3 separate regions of the Homo sapiens genome follow, and all the other regions are linked to region 2. Evidence: promoter capture Hi-C in 16 types of primary human blood cells and fetal thymus (Javierre and others, 2016). All regions are on one chromosome and are shown on one strand. The core of a region is centred on a gene start or on the middle of the fragment in contact, and the rest is flanking DNA. Distances in the headings are between cores, read along the strand shown. Region 1 has its middle 47 kb from the start of UBE2F-SCLY. Region 2 holds the start of UBE2F-SCLY (UBE2F-SCLY readthrough (NMD candidate)). Region 3 overlaps UBE2F (ubiquitin conjugating enzyme E2 F (putative)).

What was found. The method cuts DNA at HindIII sites, captures the fragments that hold promoters and counts their contacts. A CHiCAGO score of 5 or more calls a contact.
Region 1: a contact is called between a fragment that was not itself captured here and the fragment with the promoter of UBE2F-SCLY in region 2, in 2 of 17 cell types (megakaryocytes and non-activated CD4 T cells). The highest score is 10.3, in megakaryocytes.
Region 3: a contact is called between a fragment that was not itself captured here and the fragment with the promoter of UBE2F-SCLY in region 2, in 1 of 17 cell types (activated CD4 T cells). The highest score is 5.4, in activated CD4 T cells.

Annotation. Positions count from the first base shown.
Region 1 is chr2:237,917,904-237,922,043 of GRCh38, forward strand. No RefSeq gene overlaps it. Among named protein-coding and RNA genes, the nearest start is that of UBE2F-SCLY, 47 kb to the right of the region's middle. The HindIII fragment of the contact is 7,029 bases long and covers 1-4,140 here.
Region 2 is chr2:237,965,628-237,969,623 of GRCh38, forward strand. It overlaps UBE2F-SCLY (UBE2F-SCLY readthrough (NMD candidate)), which reads left to right and starts at 1,318. Exons shown (of 19, transcript NR_037904.1): 1 at 1,318-1,505. UBE2F (ubiquitin conjugating enzyme E2 F (putative)) reads left to right here and starts at 1,387. Exons shown (of 10, transcript NM_080678.3): 1 at 1,387-1,505. RefSeq lists a silencer at 1,431-1,610. The HindIII fragment of the contact is 5,181 bases long and covers 1-2,340 here.
Region 3 is chr2:238,026,837-238,030,430 of GRCh38, forward strand. All of the region lies in intron 6 of UBE2F (ubiquitin conjugating enzyme E2 F (putative)), which reads left to right. The region is part of intron 4 of UBE2F-SCLY (UBE2F-SCLY readthrough (NMD candidate)); the gene reads left to right. It also overlaps the pseudogene RNU6-1333P. Among named protein-coding and RNA genes, the nearest start is that of SCLY, 32 kb to the right of the region's middle. RefSeq lists an enhancer at 1,262-1,875. The HindIII fragment of the contact is 889 bases long and covers 1,180-2,068 here.

The DNA of each region.
Region 1 (4,140 bases), core at 1,559-4,058, 46 kb before region 2:
ATAGATAGATAGATAATGGTACCATCTTTCTGGAGGCCAAGTTGGAAATATGTACCAAAAGTCTTAAAATGCTTATTCCCGGTAATTTCCCTTCTAAGAATATATCCTAAGGACATAATTAAAGATGTGCAAAAGGACAGGAGGGAAAGATCTTCACTGGAGTTATTTATAAGAGCAAAGGGTGGAAACACCCTCAGTGCCCAACACTGGAGGACTGTCAATCAGATTAAAACTCAGATGACAGGGAAAAACTGTTCAATCCAATCAAATCCAGATGACAGGGAAAAACTGTTCCATCCAATCAAATCCAGATGACAGGGAAAAACTGTTCAATCCAATCAAATCCAGATGACAAGGAAAATAGGTTCTTTTTTTTTTTTTCCAGAAACAGAGTCTCACTCTGTCACCCAGGCCTTGGAGTGCAGTGGCACAATCTTGGTTCACTCACTGCCACCTCCACCTCCTGGGTTCAAACGATTCTTCTGCCACAGTCTCCCCAGTAGCTGGGATTACAGGTGTGCACCACCATGCCTGGCTATATTTTTGTATTTTTAGTAGAGACAGGGTTTCCCCATGTTGGCCAGGCTGGTCTCGAACTCCTGACCACAAGTGATCCACCCACCTTGGCCTCCCAAAGTGCTGGGATTACAGGCGTGAGCCATCCACCATGCCTGGCTGGGAAAAACAAGTTCTTAAATTAAGTACATGGGAATTTTTTTTCATAGTGTAGAGTTAATTGGAAAAGGCAGATTATGAAAAAGGAGAGTGAACTGATCTCAATTTTGGTGTGTGTGTGAACACATTCCCCAGGCCATATCCAAGTAGGGGGAGAGCACATAATACAACTAGCAGAAACGATAACAACACAACAGGCTATGGTCTGGATCTAGGTGCCACATCCCAATTACTGGGCTGTCACTCCCTGGCATTAGATCAGCCTTGGCAGGTTCTGAGTCTTTTTTTTTTTTTTTTTTTTTTTTTTAGACGGAGTCTCGCTCTGTCTCCCAGGCTGGAGTGCAGTGGTGCGATCTCCGCTCGCTGCAACCTCCACCTCCCAGGTTCAAGCAATTCTCCTACCTCAGCCTCCCAAGTAGCTGGGATCACAGGCGCCCACTACCATACCTGGCTAATTTTTACATTTTTAGTAGAGACGGGGTTTCACCATGTTGGCCAGGCTGGTCTTGAACTCCTGACAAGTGGTCCACCCACCTCGCCCTCCCACAGTGCTGAGATTACAGACATGAGCCACGATGCCCAGCAGGTTCTGATCTTGACTGGACCCCTTTTTAGCTGAGTGACTTTGAGCAAACTTTTCATCTTTCTGATAATTTTGTGTGCATGGAAAAGATGACTTAGCATTGGTCACATGCCCTATTCCAAGGATGGTGTTTGAGCTCCAAAGAGCAGGCCACCTGCCAGAGGACCCGTATTTTTTGGGGACAGGGATGAGAATGGGCAAGAAGAGAGCAGATGTAGGCTGGGAGCCTTGAGAACGGGAGAGGAAAGAGGTTTCAAGACATTTTTCTCTAGATTGTGAACATAATTGCACTTTGGTTCCCCCTAGAACAAATTTAAGAAGGACCTAAATTGCTTTTCAAGGCTATTTTAGGAAGTGAACTTGGATCTGACTTTGTTTTTTTTCTTCCTGGGCCTGTGCGGAGGTGGACCATGGGTGCCCATCTTTATTTGGGTTACAAAAATGTGAAGGGGGTGCAGAGGAACAGCGGGAAGAGAGCAGCCCTCCAAAGCATCCCTCTCTGCCCCACCCCAGCCACAATCCTTGGGCCTGGGGACAGTGCTCATGCCCCCACGTGAATCGCTTCCCCACAGACACTCTGACAGGAGGCCGGGGAAGTTTGCTTCCTGTTTTCTGGGGGCAGGGCGGGAGGCAGACAGGGGTGACTGGAGGTGCATGTCCATGACAGGTGGCAGCTGCTTTCCATCCCCAGTGCATCCTGCCATGAGAGCACCTACATCCCAGCCCTGCCCCTGCCACCTAAGATCTCTTCTTACAAGAAGCAGTGCCACCTTTAAAATGTTTCAAATGGTCAGGCCGGGTGCAATGGCTCCCACTTGTAATCCCAGTACTTTGGGAGGCTGAGGAGAGCAGATTGCTTGAGCTCAGGAGTTCGAGACCAGGCTGGGCAACACGACGAAACCCCATCTCTACCAAAAATACAAAAACTTAACCAGGTATGGTGGCGCACACCTGTGGTCCCAGCTACTCTGGAGGCTGAGGTGGGAGGATCACTTAAGCCTGGAGGTGGGAGGCTGCAGCAAGCCAAAATCATGCCACCGCACTCCAGTGTGGGTGACGGAGCAAGACCCCATCTCAAAAAAAAAGTTTCAGATGGTCATAGGTGTGAAAGTATATAATGTAAATAAAATGTTTTAAAAAACAATATTTTTAAAAGTTGTAGCATAGAAGTGATGGCACCAAGCTGCCTTAGTTGAAACCAAATCCTGGCTGTGCCGATTAAAAATGGTGAGGCAGGCTGGGCACAGTGGCTCACGCCTGTCATCCCAGCACTTTGGGAGGCTGAGGCTGAGGCTGGAGGATCACTTGAGCCCAGGAGTTTGAGACCAGCCTAGGCAACATAGTGAGACCTCATCTCTACAAAAAAATTTAAAAAATTAGCTGGGTGTGGTGGCATGTGCCTGTAGTCCCAGCTACTCAGGAGGCTGTGGGGGAGGATCGCTTGGGCTGGGGAGGCAGTAAGCCATGATCACACCACTGCACTCCAGCCTGGGTGACAGAATAAGACCCCATGTCAAAAAAAAAAAAAAAGAAAGGAAGGAAGAAAGGCGAGGCAAGCTCCTCAACCCTCTGGGCTTCAGTGTCATCGCCTGCAGAGTGCTGGCCATGGACACTTCAGGGACTCACAGTGAAGACAGCCCTTGGCCATGTGGCAGGCACATGGCAAACGCTGCTAACCGGGGCCATAGTGATTCACTTTCACAGCAGGGCTGGGAGCTGTGGCTGCACGTGCACGTGAACACATGTGGGTAAATGCTCCCGTCTCTCAGTGTTCCCAGCCCTTCTGCACAGAAGGTCGGGTGAGTCAAAAGGAGAATAATCGGTGATCATAATGATAGGAAACGATCGAGTTTGGGGATTGTCTCCTCCTCCTCGGGCTCGGCTGAGGATAAAGCAGTGCAGTCGGAGTCTGCCCAAGCTGCTGCTATAACAGGCTGGGGACTTAAACAACAGAAGTGCGTTTCTCGCAGCTGTGGAGGCTGGAAGCCTGAGATCAAGGGGTCGGCAGGGTTGGTTCCTTCTGATGCCTCTCTTCTTGGCTTGTCATTTCCTCCCTGCCTCATATGGTCGTCTTTCTGTGCCTGCATCCTAATCTTTTTTTTTTCTTTTGAGACAGGGTCTCGCCCAGTCACCTAGGCTGGAGTGCAGTGGCGCAATCTCCGCTCGCTGCAGCCCCCACCTCCCGGGTTCAAGCAATTCTCCCACCTCAGCCTCCCAAGTAGCTGGGATTACAGGTGTGTGCCACCACGCTTGACTAATTTTTGTATTTTTAATAGAGATGGGGTTTCACCATGTTGGCCAGGCTGGTCTTGAACCCTTGACCTCAGGTGATCCACCCATATTGGCCTCCCAAAGTGCTGGGATTACAGGCATGAGCCACTGCACCTGGCCCTAATCTTCTCTTCTTATAAGGGCACAGTCACATTGGGTTAGGGCCCACCCAGTGACCTCATTTAACCTTAGTCACCTCTGTAAAGACCCTGGGTCCAAACCCAGTCACATTCTGAGGTACTGCTGGTTAGGACTTCAAGATGTGAAGTCACATTCTGAGGCAAGGACACAACTCAGCCAGGACAAGAGCCACTTCCCCAACCATAAAAGTGTCACCCAGGGCAGTGGGCTTTTCTACCTGACCCAACACAGCCAATTTAAGCTGGAATGGAATTAAAGTGTTGTAATTCACGTGAAAAGTCATGGAAAACGGCACTGCAGTAAGGCATTGGCTACGGAAACATCACAAGATTGAATAAAGACCTGCTTTGCATCAACGCACATCATGGCACGTTCTCATTGTGGGAAAATGTGGTTTAATGAGGGAGACACGGGGAGGGGCAGAAGACCTCAGGGAGATTCCAAAGAGGATTCCCAAGCAGGTGCATTCA
Region 2 (3,996 bases), core at 68-2,567:
GCGTTCCAAATAGCTGGGATTACAAGGGCGCACCACCACGCCCGGCTTTTTTGTATTTTTAGTAGAGATGGGGTTTTGCCATGTTGGCCAGGCTGGTCTTGAACTCCTGACCTCAGGTGATCTGTCTGCCTCGGCCTCCCAAAGTGCTGGGATTACAGGCCTGAGCCACTGCGCCCGGCTGAGTTGTGTTCTTGACCAGTTTTCCTGACTCCATTCCCACCGACTCACTTAGAGCCAAAGCCTTTATTATTATTATGGGGACAGGGTCTGCCCTGTCACCCAAGCTGGAGTGCAGTGGTGCGATCACGGCTCACTGCAGCCTCAACCTCCTGGGCTCAGGTGATCCTCCCATCCCAGCCTCCTGAGTAGCTGGGACTACAGGCGCGCGCCACCACGCGGCTAATTTTTTTTTTCTTTTTTTGTAGCGATGGGGTCTTGCCACCATCAGGAGGCTGGTCTTAAACTCTTGGGCTCATGGGATCCTCCCACTTTGGCCTCCCAAAGTGCTAGGATTACAGGCGTGAGCCACCGGGCCCGCCAGCCTCCTTTAGGAAGAAAACCTGATAGTCACTCCACTGTTAGAAACCTCTCAGTGGGGTTTTTCGAAATGAAAGTCTAACTCCTTGTCTCTTTCTGACCGTTTCCATGCTGAACCTCATCTTTCTAATGGCCCACTCCTCCAGGGGCCTGCCTGACGCCCAGGACGGCCCCTCGTCAATCACACAGGACGCTAATGGGCGCGGGATGAATCTGGGCGCCCAAAAGAGGACAAGTTGAAATGGATTTTTAAGGTACTTTAAACACATTTAAGAGAGAAAAGAAGGAATAAAAGGGACATGACAAGAACAGTGGGGCCTGTGGGCGCAGCACACGGTTTGGGGTTGGTCGTGGCTTGCGTGTCTGACCGCCCGGTCTCCCTCACCGCCTGCACTGCAGGCTGCGGGGGCCTGTCCAGTCCTTTGCACTCCAGGTGCGGCGCTGGACAGCGGGAGCTCCAGCCACGGAGGCCGCTCCTTCAGGGAAGGATAGCCCGGGCTCCTCCGTGCCCCTAAACCCTGCAGACCACGAAGTGAACCCGTGTTGGAACCAGGTGCAAAACCCCCAGCCCTCCGGCGCTCGGGCTCCAGAGCCAACTCGGAATCCCCGCCCCTAACGCTACTCGCCAATCAGCGGCGGTTGCGAAATCCGTGCCCGCCCCCTGGCCGCGCCCTCTGCCAATGAGCGAGGTCCGAGAGGCCCGTCGCCCAGCCCAGTCCCGATCGGCGCACGCCGCTGTTCGCGTGTCTGGTTCCAAATAAAGTTTTTCGCGACTTTGAATTTTTTTTTTAAAGCGCCCGCTGCTGTCTCGGCTGCCGCGGGCGAGAGCGGCCGAGTCCCCGCCCCGCCACTTCCGGTCCCGCCGCCGGGAGCCGGTGCGGCTGTGAGGGGCCGCGTCTCGCAGCAGCCGCCCGGACCGGGCATGGTGTTGGGCGCCGGGCCCGCCTCGCCTGTCTCGGGGAGCCCAGGTGAGGAGCGACCGTGCGGCTCTGCGGCGGGGCGAGGTGCGGCCGCCGGTGCACGGGCTGGCCTGCGGGCCGGGCGGAGGGCGCGGGCGGTGGCGGGGCCGCCTCGGGCCCGCCGGGTTCCTCACGCCGGGGGCCTGGCGGGCGCGGGCACCCGGACGCGAGGCCGAGCGGCGTGAATGGGAAGGGGCCGCGGGCCGCGGGCCGCGAGCCGGGGGTCGGAGGCGGCGTCGGCGGCCGGGGCGCTGGCCTCGCCCGGCAGTGAGTGACCGCGGCGGCGGCGGCGGGGGACGGCCCGCGCCGAGCACCTGGTGTGAACCAGGCCCTGGGCCGAGCGTGGCACAGACCTGGCCGCGCTCACGCCCCACTCGCGGGATCGGCTGCCTGCCTTGTACGGAGGAAGCGGGGCGTCCAGCGCCTGGCCAAGGTCACCGGCCCGACGTGGCCGCAGAAACCGGGACTGGACTCCCGATCGGGGCAGGAGTCGCGCTAGGCCGTGAGGAGCGGGGGAGGTGAGGGGAGTGACAACTCGCGCCCGGTCCTCGTACCTGCAGCGGGAAGAGTAAGTATGGACGCTTACCTACAACTGGGGGCGGCCAGGCTAGTTTGGAAAATTTTTACCACAGCAAAGGAGACGAGGAAGGAAGGGCATCTTGGAACAATTAGTGCAGCAGAGTCTTGGTTCCAGACCTAGTTCTGCTGGTGTGTCATCTTGGGTGTGGCCTTCCCCTCCCTGGGCTCAGTTTCCTCATCTGTCACAGGAGAGAATTGGGTCCCCCCACTCTGCATTCCCGACCGCCTGGAAGTGGGGGCAGGATGGGTTGGAATAGCCAGAGAAAGCTTCTTGGAGGAGGAGATGTTGGGATGTAGGTAGGAATCTTCCCCTTAAGGAAGGGGTAGGATTCGTTTGTGAAGGGAAGGAGGGCATTCTAGACCTGGGTATCAGACTGAATAGAAGCTTCTGGAAATGAACAGGGTGTTGTGAAGGAACAAAGAGGAAACTGGCCTGCCTGGTGCAGAGGAATCCTGGCTGAGGAGTGAGATGAAGGCAAGGGGGAGCATAGAGGTGGGAGAGAGAGAGAGATTGAGAGACAGAATCACACCAAGCTTAGTGCTGTGGGGCTTGAGGACCCCCCACCTGGACATACCTGCCTTTCAGGTAGTAGGCAGTGCAGGAAGGGGCAGGTTTACTGCTGAACGTAAAAGGGGCTGGGCTCCAAAGATGGTCGGTCAACCAGCGTACTCCTGTGCCGAGCAGGAGGTTCCTGGGCACTGGCATTCTGTAGAAGAGTGGGATGTGGACTTTGTTGTGCCCTGATCGGGGCCCCTTTGGCTGGGGAAGTTGAGTGTCCCCTAGTGACCCGCAGTCCCATCCTTTATGCTTGGATTGAGACGTCTCCATTCGGAAGGAATTGTAAATAAGTAGCCCCCTCACCTTGAGCTGACTGGCCCCTGGTGTCCCTGCACAAGTGACATGGCCTGGTTTTGCCATTGCTTGCAGGGATGCTGAGTAAATATCACTTGATGGCACTAGTAAGTTGCACACCAGATGCTCTTCTCCGGGCTGTCTGAAAGCAGGTCCCACCCAGAGGAGGAACCTAACTGGGCCAATTACAACTTGTGGAATTTAGAAACTGAGAATGCTGTTCAGAACAGCTGATCTGTTACCGAAATGCTGCCTTAGAGCGTAATTTGCAGGAAAGAGGAAGTTTTGTTTTAAACCAGATCTTCAAGAGTTGAAGCATATTGAAGAAGGAAAAGAATTCTGAAGCAACTGCAGGTATTCAGCTAGCCTCTTGACAGTTTGAAGACTTACTTTTTGATAGAATCCTTTGGTTTAAATTTAATTTTACAGCTATGGCAACATTCCCAAATTAGGCCTTGGGTTTATTCTTAAAGTGGCGTGTGAAAATGATACACACGATAGAAAAATAGATGGTCACTATATTAGATTTCTTAGAATGTTAGAGAAGTACATTTTTTATTACTTTCTATGGAAAACAAAGCACCAGTGTTACATTCTTTTATATCTTGCAAGTCACAGACTTGAAGATAGTAAACCAGCAATCTGACTCTTCAGTGGAATTGAATGTTGGAGCGTCTTCTGCCCACAGAGAAGACTTCATCGTGGCGTGATTGGGGGTATAAAAGCGTTAAGCGTAGCCTGCGGGCTGTAGTGGTGCAGAAGAGTTTCTTGGTGGTTGGCCTTTGAGTGCATGAAGGATCTCTCTCCCCAGGCTTCCCTGAGCCTCCTTCAGGGAGCTGCATGTGGCCCTGGTGCTTGCTGTTCTGTGGGACTCTTCATTCTGACTTTCCTAGGTTACTGCCTGCTGAACTCATGTTCAAGCAGTTGTGCTTTTATTTTTCACTCTTTGCTTCATTTGCATTCCCAAGGTCAGCCAGAGACCTGGTAGTCCTTGTGTAGGGCATCTGGTGCGTCCAGCTGACCCCCAGGTGATGGATGGATGCACGTCTTGGTCCATTATTGGGTGAC
Region 3 (3,594 bases), core at 374-2,873, 62 kb after region 2:
AAAATACATTTTACCAGACATACCTTTTTAAAAAAGCATCTTCCCTTTGAAGTATCTGTCCTTTACGTATTGAAACATTAAAATTCCACTATCTTTGGTTGCAGGTTATAAATGTGTTTGGCCCAGGCCCCCACTGCCCCGCTTCCTCCTGTGCTTGTGAGGACACCTGGCTCACTTTCTGGGGGGCCATACTCTACTTCCCTGTCTTGTCCCTGCCTTAGTCAGAAATGGGTCCAGAATAGGAAGCTCTCTTGTCCCTTTTGCCGTCTTCTGGGAAGTCAGATGATTAGCAAAGCCTTATAAGGATGAACAGATGGTATCCTGATATAAAAGCCAGACGTCTTAAGGAAAAAGATTGTCAGATTTGACCATGTAAAAATTAAAAACACAAAATGGAAGAAGAAATGATCAACTGGATTAACATCCTTGGTATGTAAATAGTCCTTACTATTCATTATAAAAAAGACGGATACTTCTCTGGAAAAATGTGGCATTGGCTACAAATAGGTGATTCATAAAAGGAGAAATAGAGGTGGGCAGTAAATATCTGAGGAGATGTTCACTCTCATCAGTAACCAGAGAAAGGCGCAGAAGACCATGAAGTGTGGCTTACCACTCACCAGATTGGCAGGCACAAAGGTAGATACTTGGTGGCTGGGGGAGGAGTGTGTGACAGAGAGCGAGCAGGCTCTCTTGTTGGAGGGTGTGTGTATTTGCACACCTTTCATTGGTCCTTCAGCCACGTAGACTACCTGTAACTCGTATGTACCCTTGGACTTGTCAGCTGCACTTCTAGGGATTTAATCTAAGGAAATAATGTGCCAGATTGATGTACGGGGACCACCTTGTTAGTGAAAAGCAGACAGTGTCCAGTGGCAGCTTTATGGTGTGTCCCGAATAAAGGGAAGGAAAAGCCCAACCGCACCTCTGGTTTGTGGTGACGCTGACAGCAGCTCATCAGCCCTTCCCACAGCAGGACTGATGGGTGCCTGGGGCTCCACAGGCCTTTCAGTGCTGGCACACAGGAGCACCTTCCTCTTTTAGAGAGATTTGCCCTGGCTCCACCTTGTTGTCCCGGCAGGGACCCTTCGCCTGCTCTGGCACAAGGTCAGAGGCTCCATGTCTGTGGGATTGGAGGGCCTAGGTCAAGAGCTCAGTCAAAGCTTCTCCTAGAGTCCAAGCTTCTATTACAGTTCGTGGGGTGTCCTTTGTCTCCTTGCTTAATGACATCTCTGATAGCCAAGTGTCTCTGTCTCCTGAGCTGTTGCTGGGACTATCCTCTGTGAGGCCAGGCTAGAACTTCCTCAGTGACTGGAGGCACTGCACCCCTGATGGGCCTCACTGCTGCCCAGACCAGTGGCCACCACATGCTGGGGCCGGCCTTGCCTCCCCATTACCTGCCCCAGCCAGATGCAAAGCCCTCCTGCTCTGGCTGTGCTGTTAACAGCAAAGCTCAGGGTGAGCTTCCTTCTCCTTCATTCAGCTAATGTTGATTGAGCTTAGGCACTGGCAGAGGAATTAGCATTCCCTGCTTTTATGGATGAAACAGGCATTCAACAAATAAATGACAAATATATAACTGAAGGTTGCATTAAGATCTATATAAGAAAATGATTAGCTAGATCAGAAATAATTCCTCCATTCAACAAAATATAGCCACTAGGATTTGACTTCATTCCCAAAAAAGTTATTCAGAAGTTGACAATTCAGATCCACAAGTCACCAATACCTCTGTAGGGTAGAAAGACGTCCACCCAGTTGGTAGGATACATGATTTGAGTTTTCCTTTTTTCTTTTTAAGGCTAAAAGTAAATTTTAATGGTCAATTTAAGGTTAGTTATCTGTTTTTTTTAACTGCTCTTCACAGACAATTAAGATTATAGCTTTGATTCAAACTCTACATATTTTTCTCCTGATCTGAATTGACTTTTGTGAATTTAAACATGCTCTAATTCAAAAAAGTTTATCAGAGGTAACAATTATGGATAAAGCCTGATATTTTATTTACAGATCAAAGCCACAGCACAATAATTCAACAAATACAAAAGTAATTTTATCTCCAGAAGGAAGCTTGGCAATAAATTATACTTTTTTCAAAGTATGGAATGATCATTTAATCCTTTTAAAATTATTTAAAATTTTTTTTTTACTTTTTAAGATTATTGGGAAAATGCTAATCTTCTCTGTATCATCCCAATTTGAGCATATGTGCTGCGGAAGTGAGCACTGGAATGATCATTTCCATGAGAGTATATGGTGTGCCTTTACAGCTGATAGACAGTAATGACCAGGACTCTCAGGTACCAGCTTCAGAAACAGGGCTTCATCAGACCTCTGAATCCTGGTGTGCCTTCCCTGAGCATGGGCCCCCCACCTAAGGAGTGATTGATACTCAGAATTTTGCATTAATCTTTTATCCTCAAGCTTTTTCTTTTGAACTTTAAAAAAATAAAAAAAAAAACCCAGTTACGGCTGGGCGTGGTGGCTCACGCCTGTAATCCCAGCACTTTGGGAGGCCGAGGCGGGCGGATCACGAGGTCAGGAGATCGAGACCATCCTGGTTAACACGGTGAAACCCCGTCTCTACTAAAAATTCAAAAAACAAAATTAGCCGGGCGTAGGTGGTGCATGCCTTGTAGTCCCAGCTACTCAGGAGGCTGAGGCAGGAGAATGGCGTAAAACCGGAGAGGTGGAGCTTACAGTGAGCCGAGATCGTGCCACTGCACTCCAGCCTGGGAGACAGAGAGAGACTCCGTCTCAAAAAAAAAAAAAAAAACCCAGTTATTAAAATGTCATATGCTGGGAGCTCCCATTGTTGTTAACCTGCATCAGCAGTGTTTCAGAATGTCGGTGCCCGTGAGCTGCCTGGGTTGGAAGAACAACATTGTTCATGAGGCGTGTGCCCTTGGGCGTGTCTTCTCTGTGCCTTGGTTTCCTCCTGTATAAGACAGGGAAACAGGGATGCTCTCTTCACGGGTGGTTATAGGCATTAAGTGAATTTAATGGCACAGCACCTAGGATTGTGCCTGACATACACATAATAAGCTCTAAGCTTCAGTTACTCCTGTTGTCATGTTGTCATTTTGTTGCCATTGTCATTTTCTTTCTTTCTTTCTTTTTTTTTTTTTGAGACAGGGCCTCACACTATTCCCAGGCTGGAGTACAGGGGCGCCATCACAGCTCACTGCAGCCTTGAACTTCTGGACTCAAGCAGTCCTCCACCTTTGGGAGTACAGGCGTGCACCACTATGCCTGGCTAATTTTTAATTTTTAGTAGAGACAGGGTATCACTGTGTTGCCCAGGCTGGTCTCAAACTCCTGGACCCAAGCTATCTTCCCACCTTGCCTCGGCCTCCCAGAATGCTGAGATTACAGGCATGAGCCACCATACCCAGCCACCATTGTCATTTTCTGAATATTAAATTGACAAATGTTCTTTGTGTGTTGTTTTAAACATGCTCTTCCTCAGCCTAAAACTTCCATGTCAAGTATTACAACAAATAGATAAACATAACACAAGACGTTATAATTGAATATGTATATAACCTTGGAGGTGGAAATGCCTTCCTCAGCAAGAGAAAACTGAGAAGCCAC